2 separate regions of the Homo sapiens genome follow, and region 1 is linked to region 2. Evidence: promoter capture Hi-C in 16 types of primary human blood cells and fetal thymus (Javierre and others, 2016). All regions are on one chromosome and are shown on one strand. The core of a region is centred on a gene start or on the middle of the fragment in contact, and the rest is flanking DNA. Distances in the headings are between cores, read along the strand shown. Region 1 overlaps LARP4 (La ribonucleoprotein 4). Region 2 holds the start of CERS5 (ceramide synthase 5).

The links. Contacts are between HindIII fragments. The CHiCAGO score rates a contact against its expected background, and 5 or more counts as called.
Region 1: a fragment that was not itself captured here is called in contact with the fragment with the promoter of CERS5 in region 2 in 1 of 17 cell types (M2 macrophages); the score reaches 5.1 in M2 macrophages.

The regions. Positions count from the first base shown.
Region 1 is chr12:50,433,176-50,437,992 of GRCh38, forward strand. LARP4 (La ribonucleoprotein 4) reads left to right here. Exons shown (of 16, transcript NM_052879.5): 5 at 2,313-2,449; 6 at 4,560-4,663. Among named protein-coding and RNA genes, the nearest start is that of SNORD133, 21 kb to the right of the region's middle. The HindIII fragment of the contact is 3,407 bases long and covers 59-3,465 here.
Region 2 is chr12:50,164,498-50,169,548 of GRCh38, forward strand. CERS5 (ceramide synthase 5) reads right to left here and starts at 2,872. Exons shown (of 10, transcript NM_147190.5): 1 at 2,604-2,872. The coding sequence starts at 2,800. LOC124902931 (a long non-coding RNA gene) reads left to right here. Exons shown (of 2, transcript XR_007063304.1): 2 at 529-1,126. RefSeq lists enhancers at 2,219-2,358, 3,249-3,408, 3,460-4,221 and silencers at 2,499-2,648, 2,749-3,148. The HindIII fragment of the contact is 9,101 bases long and covers 2,770-5,051 here.

The DNA.
Region 1 (4,817 bases), core at 512-3,011, 270 kb after region 2:
CAAATGCTCTCAGGAAGGAAAGATCTTCTTTGGGGCATTTTAGTCATTTTGTGCTTGAAGCTTCCACAGCTTTCCCAGATCTCCAAAAACGTGATTTTTTTTTTTTTTTTTTTTGTAGTTTATCCCAGCTTTTTTAGTTGTTGCAGTGGAAGCTCCTACTTGTCATGATCCATCACATCCTACTCAGGACTGTGATATAGTTCGAACCAGCTGGGTAATTGACATTTGTAGCTCAGCAAAATTGCCATTAATACATATCAGGTATTACTCATGAATAATCAAATCTTAGATGTTATATCCATTAATTTGATTTACTTCTGACAAGGTACAGTTTCTTTAGCTAAGAGTTGAATCACTGTTTAAGAATAGACCTGCTAAATTTCAGAGTTCATTTAGGCTACAGCTTTTTAGTTTTGCAAAAATTATGTTTATAGTTGTCTTATTTTCAGATTCTTAAGGAATATCTTTTTTTTTTTTTTTTGAGATGGAGTTCTCACTCTATTGCGTAGGCTGGAGTGCAGTGGCACGATCTCGGCTCACTGCAACCTCTACCTCCCGGGTTCAAGCGATTCTTCTGATTCAGCCTCCCAAGTAGCTGGGAGTACGGGCACGCACAACCGTGCCTGGCTAAGTTTTGTGTTTTTAGTAGAGACGAGGTTTTATCATGTTGGCTAGGCTAATCTCAAACTCCTGATATCAGGTGATCCACCCACCTTTGCCTCCCAAAGTGCTGGGTTTACAGGTGTGAGCCACCATGCCTGGCCTCTATTTTAATAGAATGTAAAAGTAAGGGCCTTTGAGCCTGCTCCTTGCCAGGCACTAGGCAGTTGAAATACATTATTGATTGAACAGCAGCGATCCTTCATGGAACCTATATTCTGACTGTGAGAACACAAAACAAACATAATAAATAAGGAGTATGTTAGGAGATAAGTGCTATGGGAAAAAAATTAAATGCAAGGACAGGAATCAGGAATGCTGGGGTGGTTGCAGTTTTAAATAGGGTGATCAGAACAGTACTCTTTGAGAAGGGGCCTTATAAGCAAAAACTTCCAGCTATTTATAGCCAGACTGCTTCAAAGAATATTTGATGTGAATAGCAAGGTGTGAATTTGATTTTACCTAAGTTTATTAAACAAGATTTTATGTGTAAGATGCAAGTGTTTGCATCTTCTTTTTTTAATGTACCTTAAAGAATCTTTTGTGTTAATATTAAATATATATTTTTTATTTTTCTTTTTTTTTTTTTGTTTATGTTTTGAGATGGAGTTTCGCCCTTGTTGCCCCAACTGGAGTGCAGTGGCGTGATCTCGGCTCATTGCAATCTCCGCCTCCCAGGTTCAAGCGATTCTCTTGCCTCAGCACCCCGAGTAGCACCCACCACCAAGCCTGGCTAATTTTTTGTATTTTTAGTAGAGACGGGGTTTCACCATGTTGGCCAGGTTGGTCTTGAGCTCTTGACCTCTAATGATCCACCCGCCTCGGCGTCCCAAAGTGCTAGGATTACAGGCATGAGCCACCGCACCCAGCCAATGTGTGTATTTATATAAGCATGTTTGACTTAAATAATTTAAAACACGTATTTTGGACAGGGTGCGCTGGCTCACGCCTGTAATCCCAGCACTTTGGGAGGCTGAGGCGGATGGATCACGAGGTCAGGAGATCGAGACCATCCTGGCTAACACGGTGAAACCCCGTCTGTACTAAAAAATACAAAAAAAAATTAGCCGAGCGTGATGGCGGGCGCCTGTAGTCCCAGCTACTCGGGAGGCTGAGGCAGGAGAATTACTTGAACCCGGAAGGCAGAGCTTGCAGTGAGTCGAGTTTGCGCCACTGCGCTCCAGACTGGGCAACAGAGCAAGACTCTGTCTCAGGAAAAAAAGAAACAGAAATGGAAAATCCTTCTTGAGTCAGTTCACAGTTCAGCTACAGTTTTTATCATGCATATTCTAATATCACTGATGAAGTATTTATAAGATGGAACTCTGCTATATGTAATGTTTTGTTAAAGTGCTACTTGTAATATTAAACCTCTTTATGTATCAGTATAATTGTCCAATGTTGTGCTAGATGTGTTTGGGAATTGAGATACTGTAAAAGTTATATTAACTAATGTTTATGTATATATTACATTAGTATCTTTTGAATTGAACTTTTAACAACTTTTTAGAGTTCACTGAAAAGTTTAATGTTATTTCTGATAGAATAATCTTATTTCCATGCATTTAAAAAGTAGGAAAAGTGAGTAAGATACCTCTTGTTAGATGCTTTTTAATAATTGCTTGTTTTATAGGACTATTTTGTTTTTTCAGAGAAAATTTGTCAAAGGATCTTTACTTGATATCTCAAATGGATAGTGATCAGTTCATCCCAATTTGGACAGTTGCCAACATGGAAGAAATAAAAAAGTTGACTACAGACCCTGATCTAATTCTTGAAGTGTTAAGATGTATGTAAAAATACCTTTTAGCTTTTTTTTTAATTTTTAAACGTAAAATGTTATTTCGACTTCTGATCATATAGGGAATTATTTTTACTGCCCCCTCCCCACACCCTTATTTTGTTGTTTTGTTCCGAATTCTCTCTCTTTGTTTTTTTTTTTCGGGGGTTGTGGTGAAAGACAGGGTCTCACTCTGTCACTCAAGCGGGAGTGTGATGGTGCAAATCACAGCTCACTGCAGCCCCAAACTCCTGGGCTCAAGCCATCCTTCTACCTCGTAGCCTCCCAAGTTACTGGGACCCCAGGCGCACACCACCACATCTGGCTAATCTTTAAATTTTTGTATAGAGGTGGGGTCTTGGTATGTTCCCCAGGCTGGTCTTTGTTCTTTGGCTGAGTCAGTCCTCCCACCTTGGCTTCCCATTTTTACTGACTCTGTGTGTGTGTGTGTGTGTGTGTGTGTGTGTGTGTGTGTGTATCCCGCTGGTGTGTGTGTGTGTGTGTGATATGTGTGTGTGTGTGTGTATATATCCCGCTGGGGTGTGTGTGTGTGTGTATGTATATATATATATATATATATCCCGCTACTGACTGGTGTGTGGGGGTGTGTGTGTGTGTATATGTGTGTATGTATATATATATATATCCTGCTCAGCCTCCCAAAATGTTGGAATTACAGGCGTGAGCCACCACCCCCGGCCTATATACAGCTTCTGTAATAATTCTGCACCTTGGTTGTTTATCATCATGCCCACTTAAGAAGTATAAGCAATTAAGTCTCATTTTTCTGGAGTGTTAGATATGTATCGTTATCACACAACCTTTAAGACAATCTCTTTCAAGTTTTTAAACCCAAATAAGAAGTACATTTTTCGTGACAGTTCAATATACACCATATACCTACACCTGACCGAAATATTTGTAACAAACTTGTTTCTAATTTTACAACCTACTAATGAGTTGCTGTGGGCAGTTTGACAAATACTGCTCTGAAGTTTGGTAATGAATTTTTATTTCTTGATTGAAGCTTTAAGAATTTTTGCTGGATTTTGTGTCTTGTATCAGTATTTCTTGGTAACCTCTTAAGAGTGGGTTTTGTTAACTATTTGACTGAATAAGGCAGATCTTCACTTTTATATGAGATGTGTTGAACATGTTTAAAAGTTAAATATAGCAAGTCTGATAATAGACTTACAGTGGAATAGATTTCCATTTCCAGAGGATTACAAACATTTATGGAACATTACAGAGGATTACAAACATTAATGGAACATTACAGAGGATTACAAACATTTATGGAACATTACAGAGGATTACAAACATTTATGGAATCTCTCATTGGTTTGTAGAGACATCATTTCTTAAAATGACCCAATCTTGTCTGCATTAAAAGTTGGCAAAGAGAGGCAGAATCTCCCACCTGTTTAGGCTGGAACTTGGCACTTATTATACCTATGCCATCACACTTAACTGCTTATTTTATTCTACTTACCTGTTCATGGAGATCTGGTATATTAACTCCATGAAGGGACTATTTGCTACTATATTTAGTATAATATTTCCTCATAATCAGCATTTAAAAGATGGCTTTTGGGTCTCTGTAGTAGTATGCAAGATTAAGTAAGTTGAAATCCTGGATAGCTTATAATTTGCATATAGTTCTTAGTTTAAGGGCTTCTTGAACTTTAATCTTAGGAAGAATTTCTTCATATATCAGATTTCATTATACTCCTCAACATAGTGTTTGGCCAATGAAAGTACACTAATTTCTGTTAACATCCATTTGTTATCTCCTCAATGAAGAATTTGGTTATTATATACAAGAAATTTGCCTTATTAGATATATGTTGTATGCTCCCTGAAGGCAGTGCCAAACTTACTCTGTTAAGTACTCTGAATGTTTTTTCAATGAATAACATTTGACAGTGTTCTTTACATACAAATCTCCAAAAAATTGTCATACCTATAATCTTTGATTCTACAACTTAGTTTCTTTAGGATATTAACCCAGCCTCTGCAAATTTACTCAGTTGGAAATTAAAATGAATAGTTTCTTTAATGGCATTAATAATATCACTACTTGTCACGTTTGAGTGATACCCTTTCTTTTAAATTTCAGCTTCTCCCATGGTACAAGTTGATGAGAAGGGTGAGAAAGTGAGACCAAGTCATAAGCGTTGTATTGTAATTCTTAGAGAGATTCCTGAAACAACACCAATAGAGGTAAATTATTAATAATTGTTAACACTAAATGTTCTCTGTTTAAATTAAAAGAGGTTTCTTCTGCCTTTCGTGGCAAAGAAGAAAAATTGGAAGAGGTACACAAGCAAAGCATAAGTCAGTGCCTTCATCAGTTACTGTGAAAAGGTTAAATACT
Region 2 (5,051 bases), core at 1,622-4,121:
CAAGTCAGCAGTGAATTATATTACTGAGGTAATGGGTCTTAAAAGAAACAAAATAGCAAGAGTGCTTCTAGGGTTAAACTTTCCTAAGAGCAAACATGAGACAAACAAGGTGCCTGTCTTTACTAGCCAAGAATTATCATACTAGAATGCTTTCAGCTCAGTATTCCCATCCACCTGTACTCCTCTGACACTGGAGCACCATAGAAACACTCAGATAGAATTCCCACAGGTAAAGGATCCCTTCCAGCAGCTCTGCCAGGGGATATATGTCTTCAGCCATCTGAGGGAACACTTTGGAATCTCAAGAGATACGTAAGTTTATATAAAATGGGTGTTTATAAGCAACAAAACTATTTCCTCTTACCACTAACATGGGGAAATTTCCATATTGGCACATATTTATATGAAAAGCAGAGATGTTTTTCTATGAAAATCACCTTTTAAAAAAAAATTTGTCCTGACTTGTGTATTTTCCTTTGTAGTGATTACATTGCCTTCCTCCTTTTTTTTTTTGGCCCTCATATACAGAGACTATGGAAGAGAGTACCTGGATCTAGTTTATTCCAAAGACAGACAAGCAGTTTGTGCCTCCACTCCAGGATGACTAACTACAACGATTACACGTAAAAAGACAAAACAAGGCCGGGCGCGGCGGTTCACGCTTGTAATCCCAGCACTTTGGGAGGCCGAGGCAGGCGTATTACGAGGTCAGGAGATCGAGACCTTCCTGGCTAAGACGGTGAATCCCCGTCTCTACTAAAAATACAAAAAATTAGCCGGACATGGTGGCGGGCGCCTGTAGTTTCAGCTACTCGGGAGACTGAAGCAGGAGAATGGCGTGAACCCGAGAGGCGGAGCTTGCAGTGAGCTGAGATCGCGCCACTGCACTCCAGCCTGGGCGACAGAGCGAGACTCCGTCTCAAAAAAAAAAGAAAAAGAAAAAGAAAAAAAAAAAAACCTTGCTACACTAAGTTCCTGAGGGCCAAGGAAAGCCATTTAGATCTTTGGGTTTCATTTGCTTCACTTAAGCATCTTTATTTTTGCACTTGAACGTCTGGCAGAGCATTTTGATGATGATGATGCACAAATACTACGAATAAATGGATGCGTGACTAGCTAAATAGAACACAAGATTTTGAAAGACTTGAGTCAAAAACAGTAGGCAAATCAAAGAAGCAATCCCAAACAGATGCTATCTTTCAGAAATTAACAGATTATTTCACCTGCAACATATTCCCATCCTAGAAAGGGCATTCCTGCATTACAATCATTTATGCTTGGATAAAGGCAAAACGAACAGATGTCCAAGAACCACCCTCATTACCTGAGGCCTATGGCAGAAACATGTCTCCTTTCTTGGAGTCTGAGTAGACTTGATCAAAATCACCCACAGGTATAAATTCACATTATAATATCACACACCAAAGCCTCAGTGAATATCTTTATCTTGGACAAACATATGATCCATTCACTTAAAGGTGAAATCATGTGGTTGAACAAAGTATACTGCAATTCTGCTAAACTCATTTAGAAGCTGGCTCAAGGCCGGGTGCGGTGGCTCACGCCTGTAATCCCAGCACTTTGGGAGGCAGAGGCGGGCGGATCACTTGAGGTCAGGAGTTACAGACCAGCCTGGCCAACATGGCGAAACCCCGTCTCTACTAAAAATACAAAAAGTAGCCGGGCGTGGTGGCGCGTGCCTGTAATTCCAGCTACTCGGGAGGCTGAGGCAGGAGAATCGCTTCAACAGGGGAGGCGGAGGTCGCGGTAAGCCGAGATCGTGCCATTGCACGCCAGCCTGGGCAACAAGAGCGAAACTCTGTCTCAAAAAAAAAAAAAAAAAAAAGAAAAGAAAAAAGAATCTGGCTCAATATAGCTGTCCTCTGATAAAGCCCTGTGGCTCTCCTCCATCCCTTCGAACACACTCCTCCTTCCATTTCAGGCCCCAAGGCCTGTTCTGCAACTAATCTGACATCTTTCCATTACTTTGGAAGCCTAGGGCTCCACCACACCCTATCCCAACCAGATTTCTACCCTCCTACCAACAAACGTGCATGAGTTGACATACCAAACCAACTCTTAGGGCCAAACTAATCCTGTTCCCCCCAATTCTCGGAAACTCAAGCGTCCTAACAAATCTTAAGAGTCTGATGAGTCCATTCCTTTCCCTTGGAACGTCTGGCCCTTGCGTTGACCCCTCGGCTTCCATGGTCACAACTAGCTCTGGTTCTCCTGGCCCCTTCCTATCCCTCTCTTCGGGGCCTCTGCCAGAGCTCACACTGAACCTGTTTCCTCATCTGTAGGACCCTTGGAGGTTGGGAGGAGGCCTATATGACCCCCCCAATCCAACTCCGGATCTAACATTGAAGGGGCCCAGCATTCCCCTAGACCCTCACTCTTTCTCTTGCCCACGCCCCAAACTCCTTCTCCATCTAGGCTACCACCTCGCCCACGCGCCTAGCATCACCCGCCGCGGCCCAAGCTCCCCCAGCCCCTGCTTCCGGGCTTTCCTTGCAGTTCTGCTTCCGGCCCTCGGCCCTTCCCACAGCGGGGCGCCCCCGGCCCGCGCCCGGCCCCCGAGCCGCTCGCTCCCGGGCTCTCACCGCTCGAAGAGCAGCCTCACGAAGAAGATGCCCGCCGCCAGCGGGAACACCGAGAGGATGTGCCGGCCGCGGGGGTAACCGTAGCCGTCGGCCGGCCCCTCCAGATCAGCCCAGCTCACGTTCTCGGGTAGCCAGAAGCGCTCGCTCCACAGCCAGCCCCACAGCAAGCTTAGGGGTCCCTGCGCTGCTGTCGCCATCTTACGCCCACCCCGAAGCCACCGCCGCCACAAGCGTCAGCTGCCGCCACAGCCAACGGAACCCGCGGGGAGGCGGCCCCAGGGCGGGGCCCGGCCGGCGGCCACCCCCTTCCGGCCCCTTCTGGTCACTGCCACGGATCCGCCCGCCTCCCTGGCAGGGCCGGGCCTCTTCACCGCCCATCTCTCCTCCCGGCCCACTTCCCTCACTGCAACCCGGGGACCGCCTCCGGGGATCCACGCCCCTTCCCGAGCCTCTGACTCGCCCAGCCCGGCCCTGGGACCACGCCTCGGGCGGCCCTGGGCCCGCCCTCTTTTGCTGCTGGTCTAGGCCACGCTTCTACTCCTCCCTCACTCTTCCATCCAGCTACGGCCACACCCCTTATTTCAGGCCTAGCTCCTTTACGGGGACATTCTCCTTTCTCAGCCTGTTGGAATCGAATCCGTTCCGGCTCCCACCCAGGCGGTACCTCTGTCTCCACTCCCGGAGGCCAGATCGATCTCTCAGGTCAGGGCTTCTCTTGGATGTCAGCTGGTCCTGCCCACTACTGTCCGCCACTAGAGTTCTTTTCGCTCCCAACCTTTTCTTCCCTTCGTGCCCCGTGACCTCAGCCTACTTTCACTGCTTTATCCCTTAAAAATTAGTCACTTTTCCTCAGAAAAAATGGACTTAACAGTTTACAAAAGGCCGGGCGCGGTGGCTCACGCCTGTAATCCCAGCACTTTCAGAGGCCGAGGCTGGCGGATCACCTGAGGTCAGGAGTTCGAGACCAGCCTGGCCAACATGGCAAAACCCCGTCTCTACTAAAAATACAAAAATTAGCTGGGCCTGGTGGCGCTGTGCCTGTAATCCCAGCTACTCGGAAAGCTGGGACAGGAGAATCGCTTGAACCTGGGAGGCGGAGGTCGCAGTGAGCCGAAATCGCGCCATTGCACTCCAGCCTGGGCGACAGACCAAAGACTCCGTCCCAAAATAAAAATAAAAAAAGTTTACAAAAATCCTTTTATTCTTCTCTTGGGGAAAAGGAAATGGAAGAAAAACAAAGTGAAAAGGGAAGCACTCAAAAAGTATACGTAAAGGCAGGCCGGGTGTGGTGGCTCACGCCTGTAATCCCAGCACGTTGGAAGGCCAAGGCGGAAGAATCACCTGAGGTAAGGAGTTCGAGACCAGGCTGGCCATGGTGAAACCCCGTCCCTACTAAAAATACAAAAATTACCCGGGTGTGGTGGTGCATGCCTGTAATCCTAGCTACTCGGGAGGCTGAGGCAGGAGAATTGCTTGAGGCGGAGATCACAGTGAGCCGAGACCACGCCATTGCCCTCCAGCCTAGGCAACAGAGCGTCTCAAAACAAAAACAAACAAAAAAAGGCCGGGCGCGGCTCACGCCTGTAATCCCAACACTTTGGGAGGCCGAGGCGGGCGGATCATGAGGTCAGGAGATCGAGACCATCCTGGCTAACACGGTGAAACCCCATCTCTATTAAAATACAAAAAATTAGCCAGGCATGGTGGCGGGCGCCTGTAGTCCCAGCTACTTGGGAGGCTCAGGCAGGAGAATGGCGTGAACCCGGGAGGCGGAGCTTGCAGTGAGCCCAGATTGCGCCACTACACTCCAGCCTGGGCGACAAAGTGAGACTCGTCTCAAAAAAAAAAAAAAAAAAAGTATATCTAAAGGACCTAAAGGCAAAACAAAATAAATAGCCAATGTTTGATGAGGTTTCCTGTGTGCCAGGCACTGCATGGAACATTTTACACAGGTTATTTCACTCCTTCACCCTATAAAGTTGATCTTGTTATCCCCACTGGATAAGTAAACTGAGGTCCAGTGAGGCCAAACAACTTGCCCAAAGTTATGTAGGTAAGAAGTGGTAGCTAGTGTTAAGTCAAGTTTAATCTAAAGCTGCCTCCTTACATATTTAAGTTCGGCCTAAAGGTTTTCTGTACATTGTGAACTGTAACAAGTGGAGGTGTAAATCGAACGTAGACCACACCAGTGCCAATCACTGAATTTTGGCCAATCAAATGTAGCCAACTGTTCCAACCACGTTCAAATGAGACAAACGCTGATCTGTAACCAATCTGGTTGTTTCTGTACCTCACTTTCATTTTGCTGTCCATAAATCTTCCACCACGTGAATATGCTGGGTCTCTGTGGATATGCTGGGTCTCTCTGAATCTGCTGTGATTCAGGGGCTGCCCAATTTGAGAATCATACATTGCTCAAACTCCTTTAGGCTGGGCACGGTGGCTCAC